2 separate regions of the Homo sapiens genome follow, and region 2 is linked to region 1. The links are contacts of gene promoters, found by promoter capture Hi-C in blood cells and fetal thymus (Javierre and others, 2016). All regions are on one chromosome and are shown on one strand. Each heading gives the region's core, a stretch centred on a gene start or on the middle of the fragment in contact. The rest is flanking DNA. Distances are from core to core; before and after follow the strand shown. Region 1 holds the start of FBXO21 (F-box protein 21). Region 2 overlaps PRKAB1-AS1 (PRKAB1, TMEM233 and CCDC60 antisense RNA 1).

Region 1 (3,620 bases), core at 363-2,862:
GGGGTATGCATGGCTAGTGAGAGAGAAAGACTTCAGATAGGTAAGAAGAGGTGGAGTTTGTTGCTTTGCAACAATGTTTGGGATGTCACATTCATTTCTACGGGAAATAGGGAGCCACAGATGGCTCAACGCCATCCATTGAGAGTCACTTTACTAGTTCAGCTCTCTCAGGGCATCTTGATTTCCAAGTTGCCAGGAGTACTTCATTGGACCCTCCATGTACTGACAACAGATCCTTCTAACTGTAATTGCACTTTGAGGTTTTGAAGCAAAGACTCCATTTTTCTCACCCCTGTATCCCCAGGGCACACAACACAGGGCTTTGGCACTGAACTAAACTGATTTTTTTTTTTTAATGTGCAGATCCTGAGACTACCCTCCCAATCCTGAGTGATAACTCCCGCTTTGAAGACTCAAATCCAGGCTTTAGCACTTTTGTCTCTGTAACTTTGAACCAGTGACTGCCACCTGGAAGAACTTTGCCTTTTCTGTAGAATAGGTATAACTGTGGTACCTATTGTGGGAGGTCAGACTATGCTCCCCAAATATGAAGGATTGTTGAGCTGGAAACAATTAAGAAACCAGTACAGGAGAGCTCTCTGCCTGCCCTCTATTAGCCTAAAATCAGGGCACACATTTGAGGATTATTATTACTCCCCTACACCATCATAGAGGGCTTCCCATAGCACCCACTCAAGAATATTGTTATTATTACATCATATGGTTAAGATTACTGACAAGCAAAAGTCAAGTGGATCTGAAATAGAATCCAAGACAAGGGGCTGGGCGCGGTGGCTCACGCCTGTAATCCCAGCACTTTGGGAGGCCGAGGTGGGTGGATCATTTGAGGTCAGGAGTTCGAGACCAGCCTGACCAACATGGTGAAACCCTGTCTCTACTAAAAATACAAAAATTAGCTGGCTGTGGTGGCGGGCGCCTGTAATCCCAGCTACTCGGGAGGCTGACGCAGGATAATTGCTTGAACCAGGGAGGTGGAAGTTGCAGTGAGCCGAGATCACGGCCACTGCACTCCAACCTGGGTGGTGGCGCGCGCCTGTAATCCCATCCGCACGGGAGGCTGAGGCAGGAGAATCGCTTGAACCCAGGAGGCAGAGGTTGCAGTGAGCCGAGATAGCGCCACTGCCCTCCAGCCTGGGTGAGAGCAAGACTCCTTCCCAAAGGGGGAAAAAAAATCCAAGACAAGGGATCCTGAGCAAGCCCTCTCACTCTCCGAACCTGTTTCCCCATCTGTAATATGGGGAGAAAGTTCGCAGGGTAATTCGGAAAGGTCCAATGCGCACAGAAAGCGCTCAGCACGCGTGAGAATAGATACCATTTTTATTTGTTAATTTTAAACATTAATTACGTTTAAAAGAATCAGTGCTACTATTGTTGTCCCGGACTAGAGGCGGCTTGCGCTGCCGGCTCCAAGCACAGAGCCCAATTATGTCCTCCCTTTTGCGGCGCTGCCACCCGCGCAGCCCCCAGCCGATGCAGGGGAGGTGTGGCCCGCGGATGGGCGGAGCGATCTCAGGACTCGCCCCCAAGACCAGTAGGCGGGGCCAGGCGGGGCGCCCGGGCACTCTCGCACGCGCGCGCGCGGCGGCCCCAGGTACGCGGACAAGATGGCGGCGGCAGCAGTCGACAGCGCGATGGAGGTGGTGCCGGCGCTGGCGGAGGAGGCCGCGCCGGAGGTAGCGGGCCTCAGCTGCCTCGTCAACCTGCCGGGTGAGGTGCTGGAGTACATCCTGTGCTGCGGCTCGCTGACGGCCGCCGACATCGGCCGTGTCTCCAGCACCTGCCGGCGGCTGCGCGAGCTGTGCCAGAGCAGCGGGAAGGTGTGGAAGGAGCAGTTCCGGGTGAGGTGAGCCAGCGGCCCCGCGCCCCGGCTGCGCGCCCACCGCCCCGCGCCCCCCGGGGCCGGGCAGCCGCCCCGCTAGCTCCCCGCGGCCGCCCCGCGCGCGGACCCCACCCCGGACCCCTTCCCGCGGACAGACAGACAAAGGCCTCCAGGCCCCGGACCCTGCGGGGCCACGCCAGGCGGACCCCCGGGTCCCCAAATGGCGCATCTAGGAGCGCCTCGCAGCCGGGTCCTCCGTCAAGGGTGACGCTGGCGGCGGCGCGGCTCGTCCCTTTTGCGCGCTTCTTTTGTGCCCGACTTCGGGCTGAAATGTTTACATGGACCCAGTGATGCATCGATCGGGCGGGCGCAGCATCCCCGGGCTGGTTGTGGACGGCACAGATTTCAGCGTGGCCCCAGGATGAAATCTGGCCCTGCACACTCCCTCTGTGACCTTGGGGGGAGCGACTTCCCTTTTTTTGAGCCTCGTTCATAGACTTTGAGTGGTGGTGATCATTAGACCTACCTTTCACCGTGTTTATTAAATTAGATGATGTCCGGGAGGCACGCACGCAGGGCCCCGGCTCCTAGGAGGCGCTCAATCAGTGCTCACTGTCATTGTCATTATTATTATTGTTGTTGTTGTTACAACTGTCCCCATTTTAGAGATGGGGAATGGAGACATCATTCATGCCGCTACGCCAAGGTCACACCGGGAGTGAGTGAGTGAATGCTGGTGGGGTTTTGAACTAGGTCTCTCGCCGGGGTCCCTCTTACCACTGGACGCCACTGCTGTCCCTGTTTCCAAGGCTGCCTTGGATTCGTGGCCGCCTGCCTTTGAGTTTCTGTTAAGCTGAGGGGGTGTTTCTCTCCTCGTAGGTGGCCTTCCCTTATGAAACACTACAGCCCCACCGACTACGTCAATTGGTTGGAAGAGTATAAAGTTCGGCAAAAAGCTGGGTTAGAAGCGCGGAAGATTGTAGCCTCGTTCTCAAAGAGGTTCTTTTCAGAGCACGTAAGGATCTGTTGATGTGGCTCTAAGCTTTGGCTTGCTGGTGTATGTGTCTGGGTCTGCAGGCATGAGCTCATCCAGCTCTTTTCGTATCTCCCTTTTCAATGCTCTCACAATCCCTTACTCACTTAGATGGCTGCAAGAGTCATTGTGTCCTTTTCCTCCTATCCAACAACACGAAGCCATTTGTCTGTGCCAGCTTTACTTTTCTAAAGCCAGAGAGAGAGTGGGGGTGGAGGGAGCAGGGAGGGACCCACGCAGCACAATGTAGACGGAGTCCAGATCAGCATTATTTCTCAAATGGGTTCAACGGATTTTTTTTGCAACCCCTCCGTTATTTGGGGAATCATCAATGATTGAACACTGTAAATTTCTCCCGGTTGTTTTCCCAGAAGGGTTGACGAAATTAATGTGGTTCTTCTCTCTGGCTTTGCAGGTTCTACCCAGTAGTGAACTGCATTATTTGTTAAGGTAACAGAGGATTAAAAGCTACCTATAAATCAGAGTTATTACTCCCTGAAATGAATTGTCTTGCATTCATTATCCCTGAAAAGTTTTTGGGTTTTTTTTTTTTTTTAAGTATTGCAGAAATACATGGTGGGTTTTTTTTGTTTTGTTTTGTTTTGTTTTCTTTTTTTCTTTCCTCAAAATGTCTCATGGAAGTTTCTTTCTTTTTTCTTTTTTTGAGACAGAGTCTTGCTTTGTCTCCCCGGCTGGAGTGCAGTGGCGCAATCTCAGCTCACTGCAACCTCCTACTCCTGGGCTCGA
Region 2 (3,620 bases), core at 718-3,217, 2.5 Mb before region 1:
CAAGTCCTTAAAAGTCACCCAGAGTGAGATAAAATCTCATTTATCCTTAAATTTATGATTAAAAGGGTTAAGGATAATGTTTTGGGGCCTCCTCCATAGGATGGATTAGAATCAGTATAGCACTTCTGAACTGACCAACCCATTTGTTTTATATAAGGAAGAGTCTAAGTCCCAGAGATCGAACAGTTTTGCCTGAGGTCACTCAGATGATCATAGGTCATACTGAGACTGAATTCTGGATCACCTGGCCACTCCCCACTACATCATGGTCATGGCACCTCATCAAAAAGACCTTTGGTTCCCCAGCTGGCCTGTCTACAAACATTTGTACTGTTCTGAAGAACCCTCCCCATCTAAGAACAGCCAGGGCTCTGATCACAAATAACTCAATGGCAATATTGAGTGCCAATTATGAGCCAGGCACTGTTGTAACTCTTGGTTACAACAGTGAACAAAACCAAGTTCTTGCCCTCCAGAGGAAAGAGTCCACACACATATGCACATGTGGTGAGAACAGGCAGTGTTCTCACTAAACATCGGTAGCTGGAGGAAGAAATTTCACATTTGGACTATGCTGTAGACTAAATTGTATCCCCCCAAAATTCATACATTTGCACTCCCACTCCCAATTTTATAATGTTTGGAGGTGGGGCCTTCAAGGGGTAATTAGGGTTAGATGAGCTCATGAGAGTGGGGCCCCCATGATGAGATCAGGGTACTTATGGGAAGAAGAGACGCTGGAGAGCTTGCTCGCATGCTGTCTATTCACGCCCATGCTCAATGGAAAGGCCATGTGATGACAAAGCAAGAAGGCGGCCATCTGCAACTCAGGGAAAGAGCCCTCACCACACATCAACCATCCTGGCACCCTGATTGTATTAGGCCATTCTTGTATTGCTATAAAGAAATATTTGAGGTTGAGTAAGTTATAAAGAAAAGAGGTTTACTTGGCTTATGGTTCTGTAGGCTGTACAGCAAGCATGGCTCTGGGTATCTGCTTGCTTCTGGTGAGGCCTCAGGAAGCCAAGGGGGAGCCGATGTATTGATGTATCACATGGCAAGAGTGGGAGTAAGAAAAAAAGTGGGAGGAGGTGCCGCACGCTTTTAAACAACCAGATCTTGTGAGGGCAGCACCAAGACGATGGTGCTACACTATTCATGAGAAGTCCACCTCCATGATGCAGTCACCTCCCACCATGTTGGAGGCCTCACCTCCAACATGGGATTACATTTCAGTGTAAGATTTAGGGGGAAAAGTATCCAAATTATATCACTGATATTAGACTTCCAGCTTTCGGACCTGGGAGAAGTAAATCTCTGTTGTTTAAGCCACCCAGTTGATGATTTGTTATAGCAGTCTGAGCTGACTAAGACAGACTCAAATGTGTGTGGGCTGCTAGGATAGAATTACAAGCTTACTTTTAGGGCTTAACCAGATTTCCACCAGGCCTTCTGAATTTTGCCTAGCCAATGTAAGTAACACTGCCAATGTTTGAGAAACTTGTCCATCTTTTCTTGCTAGACATTCTTGTGTTCTCTTTGCACTGAGATGTGAATATTGTGACAGAGAGTCATCAACATAGAATTAAAAGAAGTTCATTCTACAGCATTTGGTCTACAACCTTAATTGGCAAATAGCCTCATTTTGTGACTTTTAGGTTGTCTGAGAAAATTCTGTTTCTTGACCTGGGTTGGTAATTATTAACATGTTTGCCTTGTAGTAACTTACTAAGCCATACATTTCTTTTGTGTAGTTTCCTGTATCTTTATTTTATTTTCAATAAAGTTTTTTTTAAATAAATAGCTTCACTCACAGGGTAAGCTGAAACCTAGAAGGGAGAAGTGCCCAGTTCAAGGTAACACAATGTTCTTAATAAAGTTCACCTCAAGTCTATCCTCTTTTTTTTTTTTTTTGAGATGGAGTTTCACTCTTTTCACTCAGGCTGGAGTGCAGTGGTGCAATGTCGGCTCACTGCAACCTCCGTCTCCCGGGTTCAAGCGATTCTTCTGCCTCAGCCTCCCAAGTAGCTGGGACCACAGGCGCACCCCACCACGCCTGGCTACTTTTTGTATTTTTAGTAGAGACGGGGTTTCACCATGTTGGCCAGGCTGGTCTCAAACTCCTGACCTCAGGTGATCCACCCTCCTCGGCCTCCCAAAGTGCTGGGATTACAGGTGTGAGCCACTGCACCTGGCATCTCTATCCTCTTTTAAGAGCTTTGAAGGAATGGAGGAGAAAAGGATGTACACTTTCTACCCCTTTTCTAGAGGACAAGTGACAAACTAAAGCAGTATCCAGGCAAAGATCCAACGGAGGTGAAAACAATGAGAGGAAGTCTGTCTCTGTCTCATCTCTTTAAAATGTAAGCTCCCAGGGATTTGAATATCAAAGTTTCATAATCACTTTAACATATGCTGTTGGGACCATCATACCCCATCTGCATGTGCCCTTCTGCGCATGCCCCAAACTTCCTAACTGTGAGCAGGTGCAACTCTGAGGGCCTTCTGGAGAAAGCTTTGTCGACACAAGTGGGAACCCAAGGGGACCAGAGAAGACACCCTGAGAGAAGCCCTCAGCCAACCACAGAGGAGCCAGTTCCCTTGCCCCTTGGATGTGCTAACTCTAATGAAGCAGCGTCATTTTTCTGGGGTAACACCCGAGGTTCGATGTCTCATGCTAAGGAAATTGAAGACATGGCCATGCAAGGAGTGGGTTTAAGAGTGGAAAGTTAAATAGATGAAAGAAGGAAGAGAGCTTCCTCATGCAGAAGAAGGGGTCCTGAGTGGGTTTCCCTGGTTTGGGGCAAGGTGTGGTTGGTTTTAGGGATGAGCGTGAGGAGATGGTATATGATTTACATGGGGTGTAGTGGATTGGTTGGACCAGATGTGCCATTTTCATAGCCCGTGAAGAGGCTGGTCATCCCACTCTAATCTTTTATTATGCAAATGGAATTTTAAAAAACCTGGCTGGTGCCATGTTATCTGCACACGTGGCAACAAAGAAAAGGGAAGAGGGAACCTCCATGTTGAATATACCTGGTTTCCAGCTATCTGTTTTCTATTGGCACAGCTGCTGGTATTTACCTATGCAAGCCTCTAGCTTGCTTATCTATGCTTGCAGCTTGATTTTTCAGGCTGCTTTTTGTTAAAAAAAGAAATGATTTGGAGACTGCGTTTTTATTAAAAGAAAAACCTTACTGAGGACTCTCTTACCCTCACTAACTGTCTAAATAATTTCTTTTTAGCTCTCGTATAACTAAGATATATTCCCTACCGTGTCTCAGAGGTCCCCAGTGGAAATGCACCCTAGATGTCCACAGCAGTAATTGGATCAAGGAATTCATTGATTATCTTCCTTTCCTTTTCTTTATCTCTTTTTAGGAGCACCTTCCAAATAAATACTCAGAAACACCTCCCAAGACACACTAATTGCATGAAAATCCTAGTTCAACCACATAGGTTACAGATGAGGAGGGACAATAGCTTGCTGAATTATAGAAAAAGTTAGTGGTCATAGATCATAATTTGGATCTTATGTCTTGGTTTCTGGTCCAGGGTACTGTGAGATTATCATTCTTCTTGATATGATGAACCATGGAGACTTTTAAAAAACAGGGATC

Evidence for each region. The method cuts DNA at HindIII sites, captures the fragments that hold promoters and counts their contacts. A CHiCAGO score of 5 or more calls a contact.
Region 2: a fragment that was not itself captured here is called in contact with the fragment with the promoter of FBXO21 in region 1 in 1 of 17 cell types (non-activated CD4 T cells); the score reaches 6.3 in non-activated CD4 T cells.

What each region holds. Positions count from the first base shown.
Region 1 is chr12:117,188,462-117,192,081 of GRCh38, reverse strand. FBXO21 (F-box protein 21) reads left to right here and starts at 1,612. Exons shown (of 12, transcript NM_015002.3): 1 at 1,612-1,864; 2 at 2,720-2,855. The coding sequence starts at 1,626. RefSeq lists silencers at 1,396-1,455, 1,496-1,595, 1,876-1,925 and an enhancer at 2,396-2,485. The HindIII fragment of the contact is 6,345 bases long and covers 1-2,884 here.
Region 2 is chr12:119,661,518-119,665,137 of GRCh38, reverse strand. All of the region lies in intron 1 of PRKAB1-AS1 (PRKAB1, TMEM233 and CCDC60 antisense RNA 1), which reads left to right. Among named protein-coding and RNA genes, the nearest start is that of PRKAB1-AS1, 4.8 kb to the left of the region's middle. The HindIII fragment of the contact is 1,101 bases long and covers 1,417-2,517 here.